4 separate regions of the Homo sapiens genome follow, and all the other regions are linked to region 1. The links are contacts of gene promoters, found by promoter capture Hi-C in human tissues and cell types (Jung and others, 2019). All regions are on one chromosome and are shown on one strand. Each heading gives the region's core, a stretch centred on a gene start or on the middle of the fragment in contact. The rest is flanking DNA. Distances are from core to core; before and after follow the strand shown. Region 1 holds the start of CCNL2 (cyclin L2). Region 2 has its middle 6.0 kb from the start of MIB2. Region 3 holds the start of TNFRSF18 (TNF receptor superfamily member 18). Region 4 overlaps SSU72 (SSU72 homolog, RNA polymerase II CTD phosphatase).

What was found. The method cuts DNA at HindIII sites, captures the fragments that hold promoters and counts their contacts. A contact is called where the count stands out against the background at its distance.
Region 2: a fragment that was not itself captured here is called in contact with the fragment with the promoter of CCNL2 in region 1 in 2 of the 25 tissues and cell types used here (bladder and dorsolateral prefrontal cortex).
Region 3: a contact is called between the fragment with the promoter of TNFRSF18 here and the fragment with the promoter of CCNL2 in region 1, in 1 of the 25 tissues and cell types used here (small bowel).
Region 4: a contact is called between a fragment that was not itself captured here and the fragment with the promoter of CCNL2 in region 1, in 3 of the 25 tissues and cell types used here (dorsolateral prefrontal cortex, lymphoblastoid cells and mesenchymal stem cells).

Annotation. Positions count from the first base shown.
Region 1 is chr1:1,397,229-1,400,936 of GRCh38, reverse strand. CCNL2 (cyclin L2) reads left to right here and starts at 1,602. Exons shown (of 11, transcript NM_030937.6): 1 at 1,602-1,918; 2 at 2,266-2,340; 3 at 2,595-2,704. The coding sequence starts at 1,631. MRPL20-AS1 (MRPL20 antisense RNA 1) reads right to left here and starts at 1,407. Exons shown (of 3, transcript NR_015434.1): 1 at 1,248-1,407; 2 at 634-779; 3 at 1-332. RefSeq lists an enhancer at 121-664 and silencers at 1,050-1,109, 1,400-1,639, 1,710-1,889. The HindIII fragment of the contact is 25,727 bases long and covers 1-3,708 here.
Region 2 is chr1:1,607,625-1,611,332 of GRCh38, reverse strand. No RefSeq gene overlaps it. Among named protein-coding and RNA genes, the nearest start is that of MIB2, 6.0 kb to the left of the region's middle. The HindIII fragment of the contact is 9,421 bases long and covers 1-3,708 here.
Region 3 is chr1:1,204,463-1,208,170 of GRCh38, reverse strand. TNFRSF18 (TNF receptor superfamily member 18) reads left to right here and starts at 1,579. Exons shown (of 5, transcript NM_004195.3): 1 at 1,579-1,786; 2 at 2,679-2,801; 3 at 3,685-3,708. The coding sequence starts at 1,600. RefSeq lists a silencer at 2,796-2,996. The HindIII fragment of the contact is 29,019 bases long and covers 1-3,708 here.
Region 4 is chr1:1,562,304-1,566,011 of GRCh38, reverse strand. It overlaps SSU72 (SSU72 homolog, RNA polymerase II CTD phosphatase), which reads left to right. Exons shown (of 5, transcript NM_014188.3): 2 at 1,096-1,239. Among named protein-coding and RNA genes, the nearest start is that of SSU72, 11 kb to the left of the region's middle. The HindIII fragment of the contact is 6,810 bases long and covers 1-3,708 here.

The DNA of each region.
Region 1 (3,708 bases), core at 353-2,852:
TGCGTGCTCCTGTGTTGTGGCAAAGCTGCCTTTTCTGCGTTTCATGTCAGTGAAGGAAGACAGGGATGTGGCAGAGCCCTGCGGGTTGCTCCCATCACTCACTCGGTTTGTGCCATAGTCCTCCTGTTCCCAGGCGGTCCCAGGGCCTGCCCCTGATGGGCTGGAGGCACCACCAACCTCCCACTCCTCTGGCAGTCACAGCTCAGGGAATGGGCAAGCAGCACCAATGAGAAACCAGCTGTGTGGTGGGGTTTCCAGAGAAGAGGAAATTCCTTCTTTCCTGGAGAGCGTGCAGCTGTAACTCACAGACGAGACATCCCTGAGCTACCAGCCTGGGGAAAGAGGACATGAGTAAAGCTGTAACCATACCGTGTTACCCATAACAGGCGGTGAGGAGAGTGGGTTTTGGTTGGCACTGTTTGAGCTGCAGTATCAAGTCATGGCAGAGCTAGTGGACAGCTGACCTGGGGGTGGGGGTGAGGAGCAATGGTGGCTTCTGAATTTGAGCCCGTCTGAGCTGGGCAGTTACTGGCAGCTCAGTGTGTGAACCTGCAACCACTCAGGCCTCTGCTGCCCTTCCCTCTTCCTGCCTCACCGTTCCCTGCCCCACGCAGGCTTCCCCACCATCCTCACCCGTGGTCCTGTACTAGTCCTGGCAAAGGTTCCGGTAACTGCAGCAACAGATACCTCCTGCCCCTCCTGCACAGCTGTGGTCGATCGCAGGACAGCCGCAGGTGATGAAAAACCGTGAACCCAGGACGGGCAGGGCGTGAGACCGCCTGCGGGAGGATCAGCGATGTCAAGACGTTACAAACGCACGAACCCCCTCGCCGTCTCCCTGGCGTTTGTGAGGTCCTGTCCAAGCTCCTTCACACGTAGATCACCGGGCCTCGCTCCCCCGACTCCTTCCGTGGGCCTGAACCTTGAGGTACTTAGGCCTCCCCACGCTGGAGGGGCTCTGTAGGGACGTCGAGGCCACGTTTCCAGTCATCCCTCCACCCGTCTCTCCCCAGGGGCTGAGTGTTGAAGGCAAGACTTTGCAGGAGTCTGGCGTTAATACGCATCCCCAAAGTCTGGAGTCGATAAGGACTGAAGACACGACGCCGACGGCGGCCGGGGGACACCGGGCATGCGCGTCTCATCCAGGGGGAGGCCGAGCGGAGCCTCTGACCCTGCCCCGCGCCCAGGGTTCAGCAGTGGGGGTCGTCCCGCCCCAGATCCCACCGAGATGGCCCCCCTTGACCCACAGGCCTTTCGAGACGCGAGCTTCCGCGATCCGGGGTCTCTGTGCGAACGTGGGCATCTTGGAAGAGTCCCAGCCCCGCTCGGGGCGCACAGGCAGGCGCTCTCAGCACGGCACCCGCGCCTCCGCTAGGGACAGACATGCTTCCGGGTCGGCCGGCACCGCGGAGTCCCCTGGGTAACGAGCCCGCCCCACCCGCGCCAGGTTCCGGCGTCGGCGTTAGGCGCGTTGCTGACGGGCAGGTTATGTAGCCAATTGCGGCTAGGCGGCGTCGCGCTGGTCGCGGGCCGAACCAATGGCACGCGACGGGGCGGGGCGGTGGCGGCCGTGGAGCTTCGCGAGGAGCCGCCCTGAGGGAAGAAGCCGAAGGGGAGTCGGCGGCACAAAATGGCGGCGGCGGCGGCGGCGGCTGGTGCTGCAGGGTCGGCAGCTCCCGCGGCAGCGGCCGGCGCCCCGGGATCTGGGGGCGCACCCTCAGGGTCGCAGGGGGTGCTGATCGGGGACAGGCTGTACTCCGGGGTGCTCATCACCTTGGAGAACTGCCTCCTGCCTGACGACAAGCTCCGTTTCACGCCGTCCATGTCGAGCGGCCTCGACACCGACACAGAGACCGACCTCCGCGTGGTGGGCTGCGAGCTCATCCAGGCGGCCGGTATCCTGCTCCGCCTGCCGCAGGTGAGGGCGCGGCCGCGAGCCTCCGGCCCAGGTAACCGCTGGGGCGGCAGCCGCCTTTGTTGGCGGCGAGTCGGGCCCGCACCGCCCCCGCCTAGACCCCGACCCCAGCCCCTGCCCCGACCCCAGCCTCGGCGCCATTCCCTAGCCAGCCCATGCCCCTGACCCGGGGCCTCCCCGCCCGCCAGTGCGCTGGATCCCGAGACGGCGGGACGCGAAGAGCCTTTGTGGACGTGGGAAGCGTTTCAGTGTTTGGTTCTGCGTGGGGAGTCCCACGTTACTCGATGACTTTCGGCCGCGAAGGCTTTGAATGGTGCGTTTGAAAATACGGAAACTTTCTTCTACTCTAGGTGGCCATGGCTACCGGGCAGGTGTTGTTCCAGCGGTTCTTTTATACCAAGTCCTTCGTGAAGCACTCCATGGAGGTAAGGCTTCCTCCTGCACTTCATTCCCAGCGAAGTATGTTGAGGGTAAAACGGTTTGTTACTTTGCCCGGTTACTAAGGGAGTGAGTACTTGCCCCCCAGTCTGAGCTCTGTGCCGGAGGGTTCTGTTTCTTGACTTTTTTTTTCCCCTGGGTGCACCTCCCTTTTGGTCTGAATAGCCCTCAAGCCTTTGGCGGCCGTCAGGACGCCGTGGCTGGGGACAAACATGGGCGTGTTGCAATGCTTCCGCTTCAGCATGTGTCAATGGCCTGTGTCCACCTGGCTTCCAAGATAGAAGAGGCCCCAAGACGCATACGGGACGTCATCAATGTGTTTCACCGCCTTCGACAGCTGAGAGACAAAAAGTGAGTCAGTCAGAGCTGTCTAGTCTATCATAGATGCCTATTTTCTTTATTTCTGATTAAGTTACAGTAAGGCTTGTATAACACAATACAGGCCTGAGGCTCTAAACCTGTGGGATATTCATGAGCGCAGTCTCAAGCTCCACCAACAGAGCCTGCTCAGAGGCATCAGTAGATGCGGTTTAGTAAGGGCAGGGGCTCCAGTGAGGACAGTGCGCTGTGGCGGGTCGCGCTGGGGCTGGCTTCCTGCTTTACCCATGTCAGTGCACGGCCCTGCTGCTGCTTCTGTCCCACAAGTTTCTGAGTGCTCTGGAGCAGGGAATCTTAATCTCAGCACTATTGACATTCAGGCTGGATAATCTTTTTTTTCCTCCTGAGACAGGTTTCCTGTTGTCCAGGGCAGAGTGCGGTGGTATGATCATGGCTCACTACAGCCTCAACCTCCTAGGCTCAAGAGTTTCTCCTGCCTCAGCCTCCTGAGTAGCTGGGACTATAGGAGCACGCCAACCATGCCAGCTAATTTTTATTTTTTATTTGGTAAAGATGGGGTCATGCTGTGTTGCCCAGGCTGGTCTCAAATTCCTGGGCTCCAAGGATTTGCTGGCCTTAGCCTCCCAAAGCACTGGGATTACAGATTTCAGCCACCGCATCTGGCTGGGTAATCTTTAGTTGTAGGGGATTCTCCTGTGTGCTGCAGGATTCAGCAACATCCCTGGTCTCGACTCACTGGATGACAGGAGTACCCCACCTTAGATGTGACAGCCAGAAATTCTCTCATACCAGATGTGGGAGCTCACACCTGTCATCTCAGCACTTGGGAGACTGAAAAAGGAGGTTTGCTTGAGGCCAGGAGATTGAGGCTGCAGTGAGCTGTGATGTCACCACTGCACTCCAGCCTGGACAACAGGGTGAGGCCCTGTTTCCAAAAAAAACGAAAGTCTGTTGATGTTGCTTCATGGCCCTGGAATAGTAAAATTTCTCCAGCAGAGAACCGCTGCCTCTGACCT
Region 2 (3,708 bases), core at 817-3,316, 210 kb before region 1:
TTCCCTGCAGTCTTGAAGCCCGGCCAGGACCTTGAGTATTCTCAGTTACTGATGAACTAGGTTGTTGTCTGAAACACTGAGAGATCAAACATGTTGCTAAATATGTGGAAACAAGAGTCACATTTCTTAAATCCTCCTGTAAAACTCTCCACTCTAGCCCCTGGGTGCAGGCATTCCTAGGTGGAACCTCTCCATCTCTTGCTGTCAGCCCGAGGATGTGCTGCCTCCCTCTGTACATAAATTCCCCGAACAAATGCTTTGGGCCGATCACCCTGGCGTTTAGTGCTTCTTTTCTTTGGGACCAACCAGCCCCACCTCAGGATGGTTTGAGGCAGTCCCTTGTTGGAACTTGCCTGCTGCCACTTTTGGGGTGATTCTAGCTGTGGGCTGGAGGGATGAAACAGCAGCGTCGGCAGGATTCCAAAGAAATGGGCCGAGGGAACCAGAAGCAATGGGGAGACCCCCGGATGGCCACAAGATCCCTGCAGCCTGCTTGCTTCACGCCATCTCCTTGTACAGCAGCCTTAGGATTAAAACTCTCTTTCTGCTGCAACCCGTGGTGTTGGCGCAGTGACATTCCATGCATCAGGAAATGGGCCCGCTATGGCCACAACAGCAGAGAGATGACTCTCCAAAGAGTTTCTCCAGGAATGACGGGGAATTGCAGTTTGGGATATGCGTGCTATGGCAGACCACAGGCACATCCAGAGAGGCTGGGACAGGGGAAGCTTCTAAAAAAACAGAAAGGAGAAGCCCACCTAAGCTGCTTTGAAGCAAAGAGCATAGGTGACGGGGACTTTGTGTTAGTCCATTCTCACGGTCTTACGAAGAACTGCCTGAGACTGGGTAATTTATAAAGGAAAGAGGTTTACCTGACCCACAGTTCCACGTGGCTCAAGAAACTTAACAATCACAGCAGAAGGGGAAGTAAACACATCCTTCACCTGGCTGCAGGAGAGAAACCTGCTGAGCAAAGGGGAAAAGCTCCTTATAAAACTACCAGATGTCCTGAGAACTCACTGTCACGAGAACAGCATGGGGGTAACTGGCCCCATGATTCAATTACCTCCCACCAGGTCCCTCCCACAACACGTGGGGATTGTGGGAAATGCAAGATGAGATTTGGATGGGGACACAGCCAAACTGTATCAGGCTTGTTGCAGGAGTTGGCATTCATCTGGAGGTGAAGACGGCCCTTGTCAGGCAAGCGTCCTCGTGCAGGCAGCTTAGCGGCAGTACTGTGGTTTTGAGAAATTCCGTAGTTTCTTTCCTGGCACACCTGGGAGAGCCCGTCCTTCGTGGCCTCCTGGCTCCATTTTTCAGGGTTTGACATAAGTGACTCCATTTTGGTACTGGCCACTTTTGCACTGGAGATCCACAGATAATGTCTTCCAGGCTGAGGTCTGTCACTCCCACAGGTGCACGGCTGAGCTAACTGCCACGTGTGTGGCCTTAGGCCCCTCAGCAGCCAGGACAATATGTTTTTTCTTTTTTCTTTTCTTTTTTTTTTTTTGAGACAGAGTTTCCTTCTTGTTGCCCAGGTGGGATTGCAGTAGCGCAATCTTGTCTCACTACAACCTCCACCTCCTGGGTTCAAGTGATTCTCCCGCCTCAGCCTCCCGAGTAGTTGGGACTACAGGCGTGCATCACCACAACCAGCTAATTTTTGGATTTACTATTAATACAGATGGGGTTTCACCATGTTGGCCAGGCTGGTCTTGAACTCCTGACCTCAAGTGATCCACCTGCCTCGGCCTCCCTAAGTGCTGAGATTACAGACGTGAGCCACCGCACCTGGCCGGTACCTTTTTTTTTTTTTTTTTGAGACAGAGTCTCACTGTGTTGCCCAGGCTGGAGTGCAGTGGCACTATCTTGGCTCACTGCAACCTCCGCCTCCCAGGTTCAAGTGATTCTTCTGCCTCAGCCTCCAGAGTAACTGGGACTACAGACGCGTGCCAGCACGCCTGGCTAATTTTTGAGTTTTTGCAGTAGAGACGGGATTTCACCATGTTGGCCAGGCTGGTCTTGAACTCCTGACCTCAAGTGATACACCCACCTTGGCCTCCAATAGTGCTGGGATTACAGGCGTGAGCCACTGCGTCCGGCCGGTACCTACTTTTTTTTTTTTTTTTTTTTGAGACAGAGTCTCGCTCTGTCACTCAGGCTAGAGTGCAGTGGCACGATCTCGGCTCACTGTAAGCTCCGCCTCCTGGGTTCATGCCATTCTCCTGCCTCAGCCTCCTGAGTAGCTGGGACTACAGGCGCCCGCCACCACGCCCAGCTAATTTTTTTGTGTATTTTTTGTAGAGACGGGGTTTCACCATGTTAGCCAGGCTGGTCTTGATCTCCTGACCTCATGATCTGCCCGCCTCGGCCTCCCAAAGTCTTGGGATTACAGGCATGAGCCACCGTGCCCGGCCGCAGTTACCTACTTTTATAACATATTTGTGGACCAGATTTGGCCCCTGAATGAAAATCAAATGATTAAGGAAATCAATGACTATTTTCAGCAATATGGTAAGTCAGGTCACCTGCAAGATCTTCTCAATGAAACAATAAAAGATCTGTATAATGTGTTTTATTGGTATTATTATTATTATTTTTGAGACAGGGTCTCACTCTGTTGCCCAGGTTGGAGTACAGAGGCGCAATCATGGCTCACTGCAACCTTGACCTCCCGGGCTCAAGTGATTCTCCTTCCTCAGCCTCCTGAGTAGCTGGGATTACAGGCTCGTGCCACCACATCCAGCTAATTTTTTTTTGGTACATTTTGTAGAGACAGGGGTCTCGCTGTGCTGCCCAGACTAGTCTCCAACTCCTGACATCAAGCAATCTGCCTGCCTCAGCCTCCCAAAGTGCAGGAATTACAGGCATGAGCTGCCGCGCCCGGCCTATTTTTTAATTATTTTTTAGAGATGGGGATCTTGCTCTGTTCCCCAGGCTGGAGTGCAGGGGTGCAATCATAGCTCACTGCAGCCTCAAACTCCTAGGCTCAAGGGGTCCTCCCGCCTCAGCCTCCCAAGTAGTTGGGACTACGGGTGTGAGCCACTGTGCCTGGCAAACAATCTGTATAAAATATGGAAAGCACAGGAGGCTGAGGCAGGAGAATGACTTGAACCCGGAAGGCAGAGGTTGCAGTGAGCCAAGATTGCACCACTGCACTCCAGCCTGGGTGACAGAGCAAGACTCCATCTAAAAAAAAATACATATATATATAATTATATATATTATACATACATTATATATAATACATATTATATATATACATATATAATATATAGTACATATATTATATATATATATGGAAAGCATTGTTTAAAATCCATGACTGAGCTGACACACAGTAAGGAAGGGAAGAGCGGCCTTGAAACAGAAAACCTGGAGCACAGGAAGAGGAGGCCCGAGGGGAGTGCACGTCAGGCTTGGACTCATGGAGGGATCCGTATTCTCTCCCATCTCTCCATCTGGCAGGGCATCGACATTTTTGACTAACTGTGTGACCCGTGAGTGAATTCTGCATGTTGATGCATTCAGCATGCATTGTGGCTGTGCTTTGCAGAGGTGCCGGGGACACAGCAAGATGCCACAGGGAGCAGAGATGGGAAGCGATGCCAGCCACACGTGCTCAGGAAGGCCCAGGAGGCACTGGTGTGGACAGAGACAGAGACTCAGCTCTGCTTAAGAAGGAAATCAAGGCCGGGCACGGTG
Region 3 (3,708 bases), core at 330-2,829, 190 kb after region 1:
CCTGCCTCTAGATGGATGACTCACACCGTGTGGTCTGATGAGCATTCTTTATTTTTTGTGATGGAGTCTCGCTCTGTCACCCAGGCTGGAGTGCAATGGTGCCATCTTGGTTCGCCGCAACCTCTGCCTCCCAGGTTCAAGCAATTCTCCTGCCTCAGCCTCCCGAGTAGCTGGGATTACAGGCGTGCGCCACCACGCCTGGCTAATTTTTTTTGTATTTTTAGTAGAGACGGGCTTTCTCCATGTGGGTCAGGCTGGTCTCGAACCCCTGACCTCAGGTGATCCGAGGCCCACCTCGGCCTCCCAAAATGCTGGGATTACGGGCGTGAGCCACTGATGGCGCCTCTTTCTATCCAGGGGCCCAGACCCCCTCCCAGCCTCGGGGCTGAAGATCTCCAGGCCTCTCAAAGGCCCCCAGGCCCAGCTGGCCCCACCCCTTTCCTTCCGAGCGTCGGGGCGGCCTGGAGCTGCAGAGACCCCTTCCTTCTCTGCAGTGTCTGAGGGCTGCCTCTCCAAGGCAGGCTCCTACATCTTGGATTTGAGAACTCCGGGGTGTCACAAACAGCTAATTCCTGTCATTTACCTTGGAAAAGGAGGAACCGCCTTACGGGGTGAGGCGGTGGCTGCAGGTCTCAAAAGGGTGTTGAACCACATCCACGCTCACGTTCCCGAGAGCCCCCACCCCCAGCATTCATGGGGGTCTCCACCTGTGCTGGACGGCGCAGAAGCAGGGCTGGGCAATCCAGGGAGGCTTCCTGGTGGAGGCAGGGTCCCAGAACCCCTCGGTGCCCACAGGGGAAACTGAGGCTCAGAAAGACATAGGACAGTCTCCCAAGAGCTCTGCGAGGGGCTCCTCCTCAACTCCCTCCGGGACCTGGATCTGTCTGGTGTGACGGATGAAGGTGGCTCTGAGAGACCGGGCCCTGGGTGCCCGCGGGGGCGGCTGACACTGTCCCGAGGAGGCGCCAGCACCCTCTCGTCTCCCCACCAGCTCCTCCTGGTGCCCCTCCCAAGCCCCGGGGAACTTCCCAGGTTGGCCTGAGGGGGGTCCTGGAGAGCTGCAAGCAAGGGGGAGGGGAGCCCACAGGCCTGCAGCCCATGGTGAGTTTCACACCTGAAGCCAGCCAGGTGGGGTGTGCTGAGCCGAGGGGTCCCTGTCCCCATTCTGTGGGGTTCCCCAGCACGGGGCTCCATGGTTGAGGCTCTCTGGGGGTGGCCAGAATTTGTGGAGACCTCTCGGGGACTCGCAGATACCACCCGGAGGCAGTGGGATGGAGGAGTGATTGGCTGACCCCCGCCCTCCAAGGGGCCCCCATGGGACAAGGTGCTATAAACGCCGCCCCCTGCACTGGGGACACCAATGTGGCCGCAGACTTTGCATAGAAAACCTTTCTGATCCCCGCCAGCCTGGTTTCCCCGCCCCTGCCGGCGACCTGCGGGGGACCGGGCTGTGTCCGCAGTGTCTACACCCCCTCCTCACACGCACTTCACCTGGGTCGGGATTCTCAGGTCATGAACGGTCCCAGCCACCTCCGGGCAGGGCGGGTGAGGACGGGGACGGGGCGTGTCCAACTGGCTGTGGGCTCTTGAAACCCGAGCATGGCACAGCACGGGGCGATGGGCGCGTTTCGGGCCCTGTGCGGCCTGGCGCTGCTGTGCGCGCTCAGCCTGGGTCAGCGCCCCACCGGGGGTCCCGGGTGCGGCCCTGGGCGCCTCCTGCTTGGGACGGGAACGGACGCGCGCTGCTGCCGGGTTCACACGACGCGCTGCTGCCGCGATTACCCGGGTAAGTAAACCGCGTTTACTTAACGCGGACCGGCCAAGGCGTCCCGCGGAAGCCGGGATGGGTGGGCGCCCCCCTTCCCGTGCTCAGACCGGCGTTGCTGAGGTCTAAGGAGGGTGGGCACAGAGCCGCCAGCAGCGGGAGCCTTCCGGAGGGAGGCAGGATCCCAGAGGGAGGCGGAGGTGTGCCAGCTCCAGCCAGTGGCCCCGGCCGGGAGCAGGGGTGAGCCAGGTGGGAGCGCCCTCAAGAGGGGTCTGGGGTCTGGAGGTGGAGGACGGCTGTTCCAGGTCCTGCTGGGCGGGTCGTGAGCCCTTGGCCATCGCCCAGCCCCCTCCTGCCCAGTTGAGGGCCCCCCTGCACCACCGTCTGGCCTGCTGCCTGCCTCTGACCTGCACCTGGGGATGAGGGTTCAGCTGACACGGCTGGTCTGGAGAGGAAGCTGGCAGGGAAGTCACCCCAGAGCTTCTTCCTCCAGGGCCTGTGGGTTGGGAAGGGAGGCTCTGTCCGGAGGCCCAGTGTGGCTGGTGGTGGGGACAGCAGCGCCCAGACACCAGGCAGGCGGCCTCTGAGGTGTCGACGGGCCTCCAGGGGACTGTGCACTGTTGGGGGCCACCCCTGGGTCCTGCAGGGGCAGCTCCTGGTTGCATATGGAGTTAGCACCTGGGCAGGGGCAGCTGTGGGGCGCAAAGGGGGAGTAGCCAGGCCACATGGCCCCAGGAGAAAGAGACAGCTGGATAAACCCAGGGTCCAGACTCCCAGCCAGGAGCCCTCTGCTCCCTGGAGCCAACTGTGGGTGGAGAACGGACAACCTCACTCCCCTGGAGGGCCGAGGGGAGGCCTGGGGAGGAGGGGGCCTCAGCCCAGCTGCTGGGGGGCTGGCCTGTCTCCTGCCCAGGCGAGGAGTGCTGTTCCGAGTGGGACTGCATGTGTGTCCAGCCTGAATTCCACTGCGGAGACCCTTGCTGCACGACCTGCCGGCACCACCCTTGTCCCCCAGGCCAGGGGGTACAGTCCCAGGGTAAGTCCTGGAGGTGCCTCTGGGAGTCCACACAGGCCAGGGGTTCCACTAGGGCCCGAGGCAGAGCTCGTGGGCACAGGTGTCCGGCGAGGACATGTGGTGTGTGGGGTCCGGAGTCCTGTGAGGCCGGGCAGGCCAGGCCATGCTCAGGCACCACAGGCCATGAAGCTCTGGGGGTGTCCTGTCCCTGCTTTCTCAGCCTGGGCTTCTCCATCCAGCACGAGGGCTGTGAGAACCCTGCGGGGAGGTGGGGGCGGGTTCCAGGAGCTGTCTGGCTCTCAGGCCCGGGACACCCATCCTGTCTGTCCTCACCACATACTGAAAGAGCCTGCCCTGTGCCCCCCGGAGTCCTGTCTGGGGCCTGGGGCTGCACCCTGTTCTGGAAGGAGCAGCTCAAGTCCTCTTAGCGGCTTGTTTACCTGACAGGAGAGGTCAGGCTGGGCACATGAGAGCTGGGAGAAGGTACAACTGGGGAGGTTGTGTCAGGTTGGACGGGGCAGGGTCTGGGGTCAACTGGGACCCAGCCTCACTCTCTCTGGGACCCTCACTGTTCTCCACCCTCTGTTCTACTGGGTCCTGCCTGGCTTCTGCCCACCCTCAGCCCCCAATGGGCAGGCCTTTCCCCTCCCTGGCAGGCCCACTGCACTCTGCGCACCTCCCCCAGGTGCCCTCACTGGGCCCCACCCCAGACGCCCCACCTGGGACGGGCAGACATGGGCCCCAGTCCTGGGCCATGAAGAACTCTGTTGAATGGATGATGGGGGGGGCATTCTACTCAGCACCCAGACCCCAGATGGACCCCTGCACTGGCCTGACGCCCTCCTCATCCATCCCAGCAACTCCACCAGCCTCCCTCCCTCCCTCCCCCCACACCCCACACCAGGGAAATTCAGTTTTGGCTTCCAGT
Region 4 (3,708 bases), core at 720-3,219, 160 kb before region 1:
GTGCCTGGATTGAAGGTGTGAGCCACCGCACTCGGTGCCAAAGTAACTTTTTTACATGTAACTTGTTGTGACAAACTTAAGTGTGCTTGTCAGCGATGACAGAAGAATTTTCTGGTCTTACCACACTCCATCAGTGTTTGGAGACGACCTCTCTTTCTCCTTGCGTGAACTAGAGCTCATTGGTGGCACATGACACACGTTTCCTGTTCAGCTCTTTTCTCCAGTTGATTAGGAAAAGTATTTGGTCAGTTTCCTCACCTGTGACTAGGAAGTCCAAGGAACAAGCACCGTCGGACCCATCGCGGCATCTGTTCTCTGCCTGCAGCAACCCTGAGCCTGTGGGACTCCTTTGGGTGTTGGGTCTCGGTTCCCATGGAGCCACATCGTGGGGGTGTTGGGAAACTGGGGGAGACAGAGTTTCCTGTGGTGGAGCGGGCAGTTGGACCTTTGTGAGTCCCTTAGGAATCCTGTGAACTTGGATCCTCCAAAGCCAGGACGTTGGTCGATGGCCAAAATGTTCTGATGAAATCTTCCCCAAGTCCACATCAGTCAGTCCTTTCAGTTTAAAGTAAAGCCTTAAACAAGCTATGATGTTCAGATGTGGCTTTGTGATGGTCAGTTCTGGTTTGATTGCTTTTGTGTAACTTGCTACAGCCTGTCGCCCAGGCTGGAGTGCAGTGGTGCTATCTCTGCTCACTGCAAGCTCCGCCTCCCGGGTTCACGCCATTCTCCTGCCTCAGCCTCCCGAGTAGCTGGGACTACAGGTGCCCGCCACCGCGCCCGGCTAATTTTTTGTATTTTTAGTAGAGACGGGTTTTCACCGTGTTAGCCAGGATGGTCTTGATCTCCTGCCTTCATGATCCGCCTGCCTTCATGATCCGCCTGCCTTCATGATCCGCCTGCCTTGGCCTCCCAAAGTGCTGGGATTACAGGCGCGAGCCACCATGCCCGGCCTAGATTAAAAATTTGAAGACATATTCTCTACTATGAGCCAATGAAATTACTCATTTTGTTTCTATCCCATTTGCTGTCCCTTGCTTTTGGAATTTTGTGTCTTAGTGTGACTGTGATTCTTTCTCTCCTTTTGTCTTTCAGCAAACGGGGATTCAGCGTCCGATCCTTTGGAACAGGGACTCACGTGAAGCTTCCAGGACCAGCTCCCGACAAGCCCAATGTTTATGATTTCAAAACCACATATGACCAGATGTACAATGATCTTCTTAGGAAAGACAAAGAACTGTATCCCAGCGGGTTGCCCTTTAAAAACCCCCCGTGTGGTCCTCCCTGGAAGGTGTTACGTGTGGCTCGGGCACAGGAGGCGTGTCACCCTGTGCAGTGCACACACTGGCTCCTCTGTCTTTGCGAGAGCTTGGTTTCTATTCCTGGTGCACGTCGGATCGTCCACGGGTTAGTTCCAGTGCCACCCATGGCAGTAGGCGTGGTGAGGCGCACAGACACGGTGTGGGGTTCACCCTGACGTGGTTCAGCAGAGGGTCGTGACATAGCGTAGACCAGGGATGCTTAGGTGAGGAGGTGGAACCCACAAAATCCCATTGCTTTTCACACTGCAGGGCTGCCCCGTTATTTCCTTTGCAGGTTGGTGTGCGTGCGTGTGTGCGTGCGTGCCTGATACACATGGAGCCGGGCTGCTTCACACATCTGGTGAGGTCGTTAGAAGGTCAGATAAAGAAGAGGGCGGAGCTTGCTAACCAAGCTGTTAGAAGAAATAATGGGAGAGAACATTCCTTCATTTCAGGAGGACACAGAGCAGGCTAGGTCTGCCGCGAAGACTCCTATAGAGAGAAGAGTATTCTTAAACTAGATTCTGATGGACGCAACACCAGTTGCATAATGGTTATGACAATCAGTGCCCGGGTTTTTGACCAGGCATTTCATGGTCACCCCCACGCTAATGGAAAGTTTCTGGATCTTATTTTGTTATAGTGAGTGATTTGTAGTTTTCAGAACGGAGGCCAGGCCAAACGTATTCCAAATGAAAAGAGAATAGGTGTCAAATGCTAAACCTTTTATCTTCGTGTTGGCACTGTTGCCATCCCCGCCCTCTCCCGACATCCCCGCCCTTGACCAGCATCTCTGGCCTTGCCCAGCATTGTCTATGTATTGGCACTCTTGCCATCCCCGCCCTTTCCCAGCAGAGTCTCACTGTGTCACCCCGGCTGGAGTGCAGTGGCGAGATCTTGGCTCACTGCAGACTCACTGCAACATCCACCTCCCGGGTTCCAGTGATTCTCCTGCTTCAGCCTCCTGGGTAGCTGGGATTACAGGCACGCGCCACCACACCTGGCTAATTTTTGTATTTTTAGTAGTCACAGGGTTTCACCATGTTGGCCAGGCTGGTCTTAAACTCCTGACTTCAGGTGATCCACCCTCCTCGTCCTCCCAAAGTGCTGGGATTACAGGCGTGAGCCACCATGCTCAGCCCTACTCTTGTATTTTTTTTTTTTTTTTTTTTTGAGATGGAGTCAGAGTCTCACCCTGTTGCCCAAGGTGGAGTGTAGCGGCTTGATCTCAGCTCACTGCAACCTCCCCCTCCCAAGTTCAAGCGATTCTCTGCCTCAGCCTCCCGAATAGCTGGGATTACAGGCATCCGCTGTCATGCCTGGCTAATTTTTGTATTTTTAGTAGAGACGGGGGTTTCACCATCTTGACCAAACTGGTCTTGAACTCTTGACCTCGTGATCCAGCTGCCTCGGCCTCTCAGAGTGTTGGGATTACAGGCGTGAGCCACCATGCCTGGCCTCTTGGAATATTTAATAAGCTAAAAAATTCTTATACACAGGTAGATTAATTAGGTAGCCAGGAGTGGCCCCTGAAAGTATGTCTGGCAAAACCTAGAACTGCATCCTAGCCATCACTGTACCTTCTGCCCTCCCTGCTGTCTCCTCTGCCAGTTACAGTTAAAAGGTTGTGGGTGAGGACGCTGGGCAGAGTCCCAGGCGTCTGCTGTCAGCTCCCCAGCCCGGCCTGCCTGCCGAGCCATCTGGGCGTCCCACGGTGGAGAGTGTGGTGCTTGTGACGCGGTGGTGCTGGGAGCCATCCTGGTGGCAGATGTGGGCTCTCACTGCAAGTCAGTGTAAGTCCCCAGGGACTGTCAGCAGCACGTCCTGCTGCCCCTCTCTCTGCAGAAGCCCTGGTAACCTGCGTTTGGAAAAATCTCTAAGGATTTCTGAGGAGCTGTCAGGCCATGTCCTTGTCCACCCTGTGTGGGGCACGGCTTCGACATGGCTCTGCTCCCGTCGTGGGCTGAGAAGGAGCAGGTGGGGCTGTGCCTTGGAAAGGAGGCCCTCCCGACATGCCTTTGTGCGAGGTCCCTGTCCATGCTGTCTCCATCCCGGAGCCTTACGGCGATGGGTGGCCACAGAGCCTATTCCAAGAGTCTGGTTTAGGGCTGGGTCTTCCCATCTTCACCTCTGAGTCTTAGGCGATGCGTGACCACGCAGCCCCTTCCAGGAGTCTGGTTTAGGGCTGGGTCTTCCCATCTTCACCTCTGAGTCTTAGGCGGTGCATGACCACGCAGCCCCTTCCCGGAGTCTGGTTTAGGGCTGCGTGCTCAAGAGTCTGGTTTGGGGCTGGGTCTTCCCATCGCCCTGGAGGAGGCTTTTGTCTCATCTCATGATTCACATTAAACTCTGTGCCATGAAGCTTAGCCTGACATCCTGTTTTTGACAATTACTCTTCAGTTAGCAC